2 separate regions of the Homo sapiens genome follow, and region 1 is linked to region 2. Evidence: promoter capture Hi-C in 16 types of primary human blood cells and fetal thymus (Javierre and others, 2016). All regions are on one chromosome and are shown on one strand. The core of a region is centred on a gene start or on the middle of the fragment in contact, and the rest is flanking DNA. Distances in the headings are between cores, read along the strand shown. Region 1 holds the start of MCFD2 (multiple coagulation factor deficiency 2, ER cargo receptor complex subunit). Region 2 holds the start of MSH6 (mutS homolog 6).

Region 1 (6,230 bases), core at 2,430-4,929, 870 kb before region 2:
GGAGTTTGAGACCAGCCTGGCCAATGTGGCAAAATGCGTCTCTACTAAAAATACAAAAAAAAATTTGCTGGGCATGGTGGCGTGCACCTGTAATCCCAGCTATTTGGGAGGCTGAGGCACAAGAATTGCTTGAACCCGGGAGGCAGAGATTGCAGTGAGCCAAGATCACACCACTGCACTCCAGCCTGGGCAAGAGAGTGAGACTGTCTCAAAAAAATTTTTTAAACGTGTCCAGACCCTGACAAGGCCACTGCCACTGTACCTGGTACCACAAAACAAGGTTTCAGGTTACTCCTAGCAGTGACTGCCTAGGCCATAGCAGAACAACTTGTTCTGACCACACATCTTAGAGTTCTGGGACAGGAAGGATCAGAGAAGGGAATCAAGCTCCTCCCAAGCCTTTCAGACTCATTTACATCAAATGTCTCTTTCTCCAGTGAGGTCTTTTCAATTCCAAGTCTGGTGTAGGTATTCGTCCTGCAGGCTCCCAAGTGCTTCCCTTCAGAAGGCTCCCGTCCACAGCTGATGACAGCTGCAAATTAATTCTTTTTTTTCTTTTGTTTTCTTGTGTGTGAATGAATTCTTGAAAAACTGCCTGATTACTTGTCAGTGCCCCTTGCTGGATGGGCTTTAAGAGGACTTGGACTGAATCCACATTCCCAGTATCAGGCACAGTGCCTGGAACAGAAGCTGCTGGTTCTTAGCCTGTGTGCCATGGTCCTTGGGGAGCTGGGGGGATTACCACCTTTGCAGATATGCTGCCAATTTTTAATGTCACTGTAACTGAAGATGAAACTTTTCTTTTGGAGATATCTATCATGGAACTCATGGCACCATTTCCTCCAACTATGTGATTGGATGCTTAGTATATCAATTTGGTGTGTGTGTGTTGGGGGTGGGGGAAATTCTATTTAGATAACACCAAAAAGCAACCAAGTGATTAATCATGTAGTAACTATGAGTCCAAAATATCCCTTCTTTAAGGGAGGTGGGATAAAGGCCAAGAATCACTGATTTTGAACTTGTCTCATTTTGGTTTGCTGTTGCAGGTTTCTAATCATTGGAATGCAACAAAAGCCAAATCGATAAACATAAAGAAAAAAAATTCCTCCAAGTGGTACACTGAAAACAGGGAATCGGGCTGGGCATGGTGGCTTATGCCTGTAATCTCAATACTTTGAGAGGCTGAGGCAAGTGAATCACTTGAGCCCAGGAGTTCAAGACCAGCCTGGACAACATGGTGAGACTCCCTCTCTAATTAGAAAAAGAGAGAGAGAGAGAGGAAGAAAGGAAAGAAGGCAGGCGAGGGAGGGAAAGATAGAAAACAGGGAATCTAACTGCCACCTAACAAATTAAACTGCTGACAGTCAAGAGAAAGCATAAGCAACTCCCTCTACCCAAATAACAGGTTGCATCATCCATGCTCTAACTACTTAGCTCAAGGCCATGGGCTAACAGCCTGAAGATAAGCCCCAGCTCACTGGCCTTCTTTAGGAAATTATAAAGGCCAGGCTGAAGAAAAACCCAACGGAGGAGAAATTTCTGCAAAGGGACTTCAGGGCACAACCCATACCTTGAGACAGCCCTCACAAGGCGCAGCCTCAGTCCTGGGAGGGCAGTGCTGGACCATCAGGAGCAGTGCGCCTCCCAGTGCCTTGGCTGTCACAGTGCTCCCCTCCTGCTCTGCCAGCCTCTTCCTGTACCACAGCCTCCGCTCCTACTGGTTCCATCTGTCCATCTCCAACTTCCTTCCAGGACAGGTTCAAATGTCACCTCAGGATTCTTCCAGCCAAGACCAATTGCTCTCTCATCCGACCTCAGTCTGTAGCCTCTCACACTCATTTGACCTGAACATACGATCACAGGTTGTTCTCCTTTTCCATTTTTCTCTTTTCCTCCCTCTCTGAGAGTCAGGACCCTCTCTCCTCTGGCTCTCATTTACCTTACTGATCTCTGCTGAGCTGACCTGGCTCATCGCTGAATCAGGGAAGTGAGTCTTGGCACCTAGGTGTATTGTTCCCTATCCCACAGCGGATCTAGCCTAAGCTGGAACTTCCTTTGGAGGCTTCCAGTGGTTTGACCTGGCCCAACCCTTTCTTCCTGGTGTGTCATCAGTCCTATCAGCACTAAGTTTGGGGCCAGCCTTCCTGCCAGCAGCTAGTAGCAGCTTCTCCCTCAAGGGGCCCTTGGTTAAGAATTCAAACCCAAAGCAGCCAAACTCACCAACATCCAGACATCCTGTACCCACAGCCAATGCCAAAGAAAAACTGACCAGTACTTTGTCACTTACCCCTGTCATGGTCCTGGAATGAAGGCAAGAAAATAACCAACTTCCTAAGCTAAAGAAACCTCTACACGGACTGAGGGTTGAGAATTGGTTCTGAAAAAGCAGGCATTTAATATTAATAACTTGATCTATTTGTTCATCTAGGGAGCCCAAGGAGCACCCATGCTGCATTTATACATTTAATGACCGTACTAACAGCACAAGGTACTGAAGATAGTACTATGACCTCGACAAACTCCTCTCACACAGATTACAACCTGGTAGAAAAGAGAGACCGGCAGGCAGACACCCATGGGGTACCACGAAATCCCCAACTGACACCTGAAATAACACATAAAGGATAAGAAGGATTATTTCAACCAAAGGACAGTGCCTCAGACATAGCGAACATACTGAAGGAACATGTAAGCCCAGAAGGAACTTGTTCTGATCTAAGAACCAAAAAAGATTCAGTATGGTTGAAGACACAGTACAGTCGAGACAAATGAATCTAAAGTTAAAGGAAGACAGGTCATGAAGGGCTTTGCAAGCCCCGTTCAAGAGCTTGGAAGAGCAATGAGAATCCACCAAAGGGTGATAAGGGAATGGGGGGACGCTTCTGGTCACATGATCAGATTTCTGTTTTAAGACCATGGCTGTAGCCTCTCTGTATAGAACAAACTACAGAGGATGAAGAAGAGATGCAGGGATCATCAGGAAGACACCGAGGTAGTCCAGAGAAGAAAAGGTGGCCTGAACTAGGTAGGGCAGGGGGATGGGACTGGAGAATGAACGTATCCAAGACAACTTTGCAAGGGATTCGATGTGGGTGGGTAAAGGAGTGAAGCAAGTGAGAATGATGCCCAATTCTGGCTTGGGCACCCGGGTGGATGGCCATGCCCAGAGAGGGAATACAACAGGAGATCAGCTTCCCCCGCCGGGCCCGACAGGACCTGTGGTCTCCCCGAGAGAGGGAACAAGGAGCAGAGGGAGAGTAAGGCTTCCGGCCCGCTGCTTTTGGGCCGGGCCAGGAGCAGTGTCCACCCGACACAGCTGGTCCCACAGGCCGATCCTCGGGCCCCTAGGGACCAGGGAAGGGGGCGGAGATCTGCCCAGTCGGCCCCGTCTGGCTCCAGAGCCCCCGGTGGGGCACAGGCTTCCGCCCCGGGAGACAGGCCGTGCTCCTAGCCGGTTAAGCGTCCCGAGACGGCCTGGGGGCCCAGCCCGCGCCCCCAGACTACTCCTGCCTCTCATCTTGAGCCCAAGCCTCCAGCCCACAGGAGAGGCGCCGGGATCCCGCCCGCTGCGGAGAGTGCGCTAGTTCACTCACCCTTACGGTCTCCGAAGCAGACGCGAAGCCCTCCAACGTGAGCCTCACCAGCCCCCGTCCCCAAAACGCTCTTCCTCGGCTTCGCCCCGCCCCCCCCCCCCCCCCGACCTGCCCTGCGCACGCGCGCTCCCTGCCGCCCGCCCATTGGCGCCGCCGGGCCCCTCCCGCTGGCGGCGGCGGGCTGTGAGGACGGCTCGCGTGAGTCCACGTGTAATCGGCCCGGGCCCAGCACTGGCGGGACTGACGCAGTTCTTCTACCTGCTTTCCCAAGGGCGACACTCGGCTCCACTCCAGTTGGGCCGCTGGACGCCCTAGGGGCCCGGCAGTTGCTAGGCAACGCCGGAAGCCCTCAGGAACGTAGTTCCACGGGCGACGTAGGATGGCGGATCCGGATGGGGCGGACCCCAAAGCTGGCTCCCAACTCCGCTCACCCCCTCCTATACAGGGCTCTTGGTTCAGGTCTCTTGGTTCGTCCTGCTGCAAGTTGGGAAGAAAGATAATAGGAATGCTAATTCCTTCTTGATGAAACGACCACAACACGCTGGAGCCGGCCTTGGACCCTACGTTTCAAGATTGGCCTGCTTCCAGCGTCTGCCAGCTCCACTGCACAAGCTGCGGCAGCCGCTGTCCCCGTTCGCTTCCACGGGAGTCCCAGCAAGACTATGCGACCCAGTTCAAATACCATCTTCCATGTACCGTTCGTGAAATCAGCAGCTTTTGACATTCAAGAGAGGACAGATTACTTAAAAACAGACTCATGAACAAATAGGGAAACGAATACATCATCCCTGTATCGAATTCATCCCTGTATAATCCTGCCCTTACACCTGTGCTCCTATACAAGATTAACATTCAGTAAGTATCCATTGACCTGATGGATAAATGAGTGTAGGACGGTCGTTTTGTTTTTTTGTTTTGTTTTGTTTTGTTTTGAGACGGAGTCTCGCTCTGTCCCAGGCTGGAGTGCAGTGGTGGGATCTCGGCTCACTGCAACCTCCGCCTCCCAGGTTCAAGCTCTTCTCCTACCTCAGCCTCCCGAGTAGCTGGGATTACAGGCGCGTGCCACCTTGCCCGGCTAATTTTTGTATTTTTAGTAGAGACGGGGTTTCACCGTGTTGGCCAGGCTGGTCTCTAACTGCTGACCTCTTGATCCTCCCGCCTCAGCCTCCCAAAGTGCTGGGATTACAGGCGTGAGCCACCACTCCCGGCAGGACGGTCGTTTTTTTTAAAGCCCTTCTCCCATTTCTGTCCATAAAGGTACATAATCGTTTTTCAAATGAGCCTGGGTCCGGACAGGAAAGACAAAGAAAGTGGCTAAGTAGTTAGATGCCTTGAAAGTTGCCTAACGCCACTGCCATTGACGGTCTCATTCCTTTTCCCACCTTCATCTGAGATTGAAATCTGCCACCCCATCCCAGAGAAAAATCCCATAATCCCTAATTTTTTTTTCTTTTTTTAAAGAAAAGAGTCTCCATGGTGCCCAGCTCGTCTCGAACTCCTGGGTTCAAGCAATCCTCCCACCACCTCCGCCTCCCAAAGTGCTGGGATTACAGGGGTGAGCCACCGCGCCGGGACAAAGAATCCCTAAGTTTTGAGGAAACCCTATTAATTCAAGACCCATTCTTCTTTCCTTACTCTGAACTTTGGATTAGTTTGATCTAGTTCCTCCTTCTACCCTGCATCTGCCATTCATCCATCTCTTCATCCATTCATCCACCCCTCCCTTTGTTCATTTATTCATTCAATAACATTTCTTGAATATCTTCTATGTACTAGGCGCTCTACTAGGAGCTACTAGAGATACAAATAAGACAAATGAAGTGTCAAGAAGCTGGTGTCTGGTAGATGGATAAAGTGTCCTCATTCTAGCCAGTGCTTTCATTTTTTTCCTATGGATGTTATCCTGTGTTATGTCTCTCTTGAATCTACAGTCACTCCCTCTCTACCAGATAATTCCCATCAACATATAAACTTGCTGTATTTTCTCCCCCACCATACCACTGAAACTGCAATCTCCATGCAAATCTAGTGGTCTCTTTGATCTCTTGTTTTTATTTTACTTGCCCTCTCAACACTGTTTTATCAAAGCCAACCACTCTCACTTAGAAACACTTTCTTCTCTTGTTTTCTGACACCACACACTCTGGGTCCTTCTGCTACCTCACTCATTATCCTTTCTTGGGCTTCTTAATTGGCTTCTCAATCTATAATTATCAAAGTGTCCAGGGTTCTGTTCTGAGTCACCTTCTCTATCCACCCTCCCTATGTGAGTTTACCTAGTCCTGTGCTTTAGATACCATTTATAAATAGATGACTCCAAAATATGTCTCTCTGACAATGACCTCTCTGTGTAATTCCTGGCTCCTGTAAATAACTGCCTACTTGATGTCTCCATATGAATGTCAGACTGGCATCTCAAACTTAATGTGTCCCCCCAAAATCTTGATTTTCACCCCCAAACCTGCACCTCTCTCAGTCTTGTGCATTTTAGTAAATGTCACTGGTACTCATTCTGTTGTTCAAGCTAAAATTCTACGAGCTGTTTTTGATTTATCTCATCCCTTTACCTTTAAATCCTTCAGCAAAGCCTGTTGATGCTATCAAAATGTATCCTGAGTCTTTGACTTCTTTCCA
Region 2 (6,161 bases), core at 3,533-6,032:
GAAGGTAGTGTTAATATCATCCCTGTTTTACAGATGTAGAAACTGAGGCACAGGCTAAATAACTTGCCCAACAAGCTCGTGCAGTTTAGTAAGCAGCTCAGCTGGGATGTGAACACAAACTTTGAATACAGAGCTCTTAACCAGTAGGCCAGAGGTTCCCAAACACCTAGTATATTTACTACCTTAGTACTTTCCTGCCACATCTCCTAGGCCAAAACAACTCCATTGATTGTTATGCAATTTACTAAGTGTAGCCATTTGAAAAAAAAATACATATAAAAGAAAAATATTTTTATTCAGTTTTCAAAATAACCCATATATAGTCATGGAATGTATGTGTTGGTTGGGCACTGCAGACTAAAGACAGTTTAGGGCCGGGCACGGTGGCTCAGGCCTGTAATCCTAGCACTTTGGGAGGCCAAGTAGAGAGAAGGGCTTGAGCCCAAGAGTTGGAGACCGGCCTGGGCAACATAGCAAGACCCAGTCTCTACAGAAAATAAAATTATCAGGGTGTGAGGACGCACACCTGCAGTCTTAGCTGCTTGGGAGGCTGAGGCTGGAGGATCAGCCTGGGCAACAGAGTGAGACCCTGTCTCAGAAAAAAAAAAAAAAAAAGACAGACTTTTATTCAGATATGCATGCAGGAGTTCACAGAAAAAAAAAGTGAGTCCAGGAGGCTGTTATTTGGCATTTATACAACTTTTTTTTTCTTGAATCTCGAAATCTACTTTATATATACCATTTAATAGGGGAAGAGGAGGGAGAAAAAGCCTTCCATGGGAAGAACAAATAGGTTTCTGGGGGAACAAAAGGGAGATAAGAATGTTTGTTTTTGCAGGTGCAAGTGGTCTTTGTCTTTTTTTCTGGCCACTAAAACTCCCCTAGAGAGGAGATTTACGGCAGCTTCACTCCCAGAAATTTCTGCTGTTAGTCGCATAAGGGAAGCTTTGAAACGGCATCTTTCTGCATCTGTTGGCTCTCAAATGTCTTCAGTTCCAAGTAACATTCATGCCAATTCTGGGGGTCTGAGTGTCCCCACATAATACATGTGTTCTCTTGTCTTTTAATGAAGTTTGTGGGAGGCATCTAACTGTAGCCTCCAAAATTTGGCCCATAGGTACTACTGTCCTTATCAAAGACGAGGAAACAAGTTCAGAAAAGTATTAATTGCTCCGAGTTATCTGCTTGGCTAGCTAGGATCAGAGCTCAGTTCTCCATTTAACCCAAAGCCCAGGCTCTTAACCTCTTACAACTGGCGCATCCCCTCTGAACCTCCATTTCCTCCCTGTAAAAGAATAACATCGGCCGGGCGCAGTGGCTCACATCTATAATCCCAGCACTTTGGGAGGCAGAGATGGGCGGATCACGAGGTCAGGAGTTTGAGACCAGCCTGGCCAACATGGTGAAACCCCATCTCTACTAAAAATACAAAACTTAGCTGGGTGTGTTGGTGCCTGTAACCCCAGCTACTCAGGAGACTGAGGCAGGAGAATTGCCTTAACCTGGGAGGCGGAGGTTGTGGTGAGCCAAGATCGTGCCATTGCACTCCAGCCTCGGTGACAGAGCAAGACTCCATCCCCAAAAAAACAAACAACAACAACAAAAAGAGAATAACGTTATATTCAGTTGAACCAAAATGAATTAAATATTAATATTTGTACTTCAAAAACGGTCCAGCTTGGCTGGGCGCAGTGGCTCCCGCCTGTAATCCCAACATTTTGGGAGGCCGAGGCAGGAGGATCATTTGAGGTCAGGAGTTTGAGACCAGCCTGGCCAACATGGTGAAATCCTGTCTCTACTAAAAATACAAAAATTAGCTGGGCAGTAGTAGCGCGTGCCGGTAATCCCAGCTATTCAGGAGGCTGAGGAAGGAGAATTGCTTGAGCTTGGGAGGTGAAAGTTGTGGTGAGCTGAGACTGCACTACTGCACACCAGTCTGGGAGACAGAGTAAGACCCTGTCTCAAAACAAAACAACCAAAAAACCAAAAAGGTCCAGCTTGGGCAACATAGTGAAACTTCGTCTCTACAGAAAATTTTTAAAATACTAGCAGGGCACCGGGCACAGTGGCTCATACCTGTAATCCCAGCACTTTGGGAGGCTGAGGCAGGCGGGTCACTTGTGGTCAGGAGTTTGGGATCAGGCAGGCCAACATGGTGAAACCGTGTCTCTACTAAAAAACAAAAATTAGCTGGGCATGGTGGTAGGCACCAGTAATCCTAGCACTCAGGAGGCTGAGGCATGAGAATTGCCTGAACCCGCAAAGCAGGGGTTGCAGTGAACCAAGATGGCGTCACTGTACTCCAGCCTGGGTGACAGAATAAGACTCCTCAATTAAAAAAAAAAAAAATTAGCTGGGCATGGTGTTGCGGGCCTGTGGTCCCAGGTACTCAGGAGGCTGAGGTGAGAGGATTACTTAAGCCTGGGAGGTTGAGGCTACAGTAAGCCAAGATCACGCCACTATACTCCAGCCTCTGTGACAGAGCCAGACCCTGTCTCAAAAAAATTTTAAAAAGGGCAAATTTTGGCAATTTCACATAGTTCAACCTAGTATAAGGTGGTTGTAATAACTAAATGAGATAAAATGGTGTTAAATTGGAAGTATTATAGTATTTCTGTTAACAACATAGGGCTCCAGAACCAGCTTCCTTGAGTTTAAATCCAGGCTCCACCACTTCCTAGCTATGCAGTCATGGGCAAGTTACTTGACCCAACTGTGCCTCAGCTTCATCCATGATATGGAGATACAGGATAACCAGCCTCTTACGTGCAATTCTGAAATCCAAAAAGCTCTGTAAACCAAAAGTTTGGGGGTAAACTCATTTGGTAGCAAATTTTGACCTGAGGCTATTTATAGTCTATATTCTGTATTCTTTCTACTTAGTATGAATAAGCATGTAAGTTTTACTGCATGTTTGATTTCAGCATGTTCCCCCAGACTCTCTGGGGGTGTTTACGTATGCCGGTGGGGGAAAGAGACCAACTCTCAAATATTATCTCAAACAGTTGGTTTCACTGTGCTTGCTTGGGTAGCACATATACCAAAATTGGAATGACCCCTGCACAGGGATGAAATGCAAATTCGTGAAGCATACTGTATTTTTCTTAGCACATACCACCTTTGGCAATATTCTTTTTTTTTTTTTGAGAGGGAGTCTTGCTCTGTCGCCCAGGCTGGAGTGCAGAGGCGCGATCTCGGCTCACTGCAAGCTCCGCCTCCCGGGTTCACACCATTCTCCTACCTCAGCCTCCCCAGTAGCTGGGACTACAGGCGTGTGCTACCACGCCAGGCTAATTTTTTGTATTTTTAGTAGAGGCGGGGTTTCACTGTGTTAGCCAGGATGGTCTCGATCTCCTGACCTCGTGATCCGCCCACCTCCGCCCCCCCCCCGAAGTGCCGAGTGCTGGGACTACAGGCGTGAGCCACTGCGCCCGGCCCCCGCCTTTTTTTTTTAGATTGATTTTATTACTTGCCTAGCAAAGGAGAACCTTCTGGCAGAACAGTCTCCAAGAACAAGGCAAACAACTAATTTTACATAGGTTTTTACCAATGTACAGCTGTTGATTGTGACTGGTTTCCGGCAATCTGGATTTCACAATCTGGATAAGGGGACAAACAATTGTCTGTCTTCCACTATCTTTCTTGAATTTGAATAGAACCTTTTTATTCTCATAGCCTCTTAGCTTTCTTTCTTTTTTTTTTGAGACGGAGTTTCGCTCTTGTCGCCCAGGCTGGAGTGCAGTGGCGCGACCTTGGCTCACTGCAAACGCTGCCTCCCAGGTTCAAGTTATTCTCCTGCCTCAGCCTCCCAAGTAGCTGGGATTACAGGCGCATGCCACCACGCCCGGCTAATTTTTGGATTTTTAGTAGAGACGGGGGTTTCACCATGTTGACTAGGCTGGTCTTCAACGCCTGACCTCAGGTGATCCGCCCGCCTCGGCATCCCAAAGTGCTGGGATTACAGGCGTGAGCCACTGCGCCCGGCCTCTCATAGTCTCTTAGCTTTCTAAAATTTGAAAAATCCTGTAAAGACACACCTGGGTCAAAGGGCTCAGATAACGGACTGTGGCCCTTAAGTACTTACGTCACAGGTTATTGAGAGGATCGATTTAGTTACCAGATGTAAAATGCTGGGATCAGTGCCTGGCAAAGGAAAACTTTGTACAGCTGCAGGCTTTCACCATACACAACAGCATCGCTAACGAATGCTATTACAATATTCATTTAGCGTTTACCAAGTGCCTACTCTATACAAATCTTGAGAATACAACGTGAAGGTGAACTGCTGACTAAAGTTTGGTCCCTTTCGCTCCGTCTCCTTGCGAAAATGCTCTAACGGCAGGAGGTCACGCGAGCGCTGGACGCGTTTCTCCCCGCGAGCCCCTTTCCGAGGCCTTTCGGGTCCCCCCGGTTATCCCCGCCCGGGCGGTGCGCGCCCCCGCTGTTCCCGCTTCCGCTCCAGAGAGGCAGGGCTTTCCGAGCCTGCTAGCCCCGCGGCCGCAACTAACCCCGGGTCGGAGTGTTCCGGCCCGGCCAGCCCCGCGGCGTGAGGGAAGGGGAGCTCAGCAGTTCCCCGCGCGGGGCCCAGGCGTCGGCGGCAGGGCGGGCCCCTCACCGCCAGCGTGCCAGCCCCGCCCCTACCCACCAGTGTGCCAGCCCCGCCCTTCCCCACGTCGCCGCGCGCCCGGGGGCGGGGCCTGGCGCGCACCGCCCGCGCACGGCGAGGCGCCTGTTGATTGGCCACTGGGGCCCGGGTTCCTCCGGCGGAGCGCGCCTCCCCCCAGATTTCCCGCCAGCAGGAGCCGCGCGGTAGATGCGGTGCTTTTAGGAGCTCCGTCCGACAGAACGGTTGGGCCTTGCCGGCTGTCGGTATGTCGCGACAGAGCACCCTGTACAGCTTCTTCCCCAAGTCTCCGGCGCTGAGTGATGCCAACAAGGCCTCGGCCAGGGCCTCACGCGAAGGCGGCCGTGCCGCCGCTGCCCCCGGGGCCTCTCCTTCCCCAGGCGGGGATGCGGCCTGGAGCGAGGCTGGGCCTGGGCCCAGGCCCTTGGCGCGCTCCGCGTCACCGCCCAAGGCGAAGAACCTCAACGGAGGGCTGCGGAGATCGGTAGCGCCTGCTGCCCCCACCAGGTAGCGGGGTGGGGGTGGGGTCGAAGGCGGGGGCATAGCGGCGGGGCGCTTGGAACCCGGCGAGGGGAGGCTCGCACAGGGGGTTGGGGGGGTGCACGGCCTGGCCCTGGGCTCGGAGGAGGCGGGGCCGCAGAGTTGGCTTGAATGAGTGCAGGGGTCGAGTCTGGAGCATTTGGGGGTGTAGCTTGTAAACAGGGTCGGAGGAGAGAGGCTGTGCAGGAAGAGGGCTGCAGGGGAGACGCGGAGAGTTCGGGCCTTTTGGAGGGAGGAGACGCGTCCCGCCAGGTGGGGGTGCTGGGCTAAGGAAGGGGCGACGCGCGCAGCTCCGGGTGGGGAGGGGGCCTGGGAGGTGGGAGCACTGGGGGTGGGGCGAGAAGGGGAAGGCGCCCGGCCCACTTGGTGGGCGGGGCGGGGGGCGGGGTGGCGGGAAGGAGGAATGCCTGCGGGAGGCCGAACGGGGAGAGTCCGGTGGTGTGGGGTGCGAAAGGAGGTTCCTCGGCCGGCGCGGAGATAGTGAGTTGGGGCTCCAGTAGTCGATCGAGGTAGACACTTAGAGGTAGTTAAGAGCCGCGGTCGCCGAGACGCCTTGGGGACGGTGGGCCTTCGGCCTAGGTGAGGGGCCGCCGAGGGGGTGGGCCACGAGCTGCGAGCGCGGGGGGGTGTGTCACCATGGGGACCGCGGGGCCTAATTGGGCGGGGCGGGGCCGTGGGGAGCCGAAGTGCTGGGATCCGGCTGGGTCCTTCGGTAGGTAGGCTGCACGTGCACCGAGACGAAGATAGAATATTTTGACGTATGTGGAAATTCGTGTCGAGTGGAAAATATTTTATTTTATGAAATAGTGTAATTTTTATGGGGCACCACTGGGCTTTTAGAGGCCTTAATCGGGCGCTGGACAAAGATGTGTGGACGTGAGTGACTCCGGGGAAGCCTGTCGGGAGTTGTCCTCACTTTATGGGCAGTTAAGTGCTTTTTTTTTTTTTTCCTTTTTGAGAGAGAGTTTCGCTCAAGTCCAGGCTGGAGTGCAATGGC

The links. The method cuts DNA at HindIII sites, captures the fragments that hold promoters and counts their contacts. A CHiCAGO score of 5 or more calls a contact.
Region 1: a contact is called between the fragment with the promoter of MCFD2 here and the fragment with the promoter of MSH6 in region 2, in 8 of 17 cell types (neutrophils, naive CD4 T cells, total CD8 T cells and 5 more). The highest score is 12.5, in neutrophils.

The regions. Positions count from the first base shown.
Region 1 is chr2:46,912,127-46,918,356 of GRCh38, forward strand. MCFD2 (multiple coagulation factor deficiency 2, ER cargo receptor complex subunit) reads right to left here and starts at 3,680. Exons shown (of 4, transcript NM_139279.6): 1 at 3,597-3,680. It also overlaps a transcript of TTC7A not described here. RefSeq lists a silencer at 3,667-3,746 and an enhancer at 3,750-4,724. The HindIII fragment of the contact is 10,556 bases long and covers 1-6,230 here.
Region 2 is chr2:47,778,363-47,784,523 of GRCh38, forward strand. MSH6 (mutS homolog 6) reads left to right here and starts at 4,783. Exons shown (of 10, transcript NM_000179.3): 1 at 4,783-5,131. The coding sequence starts at 4,872. RefSeq lists silencers at 3,024-3,205, 4,356-4,835, 5,116-5,275, 5,476-5,565 and an enhancer at 4,156-4,225. The HindIII fragment of the contact is 5,497 bases long and covers 944-6,161 here.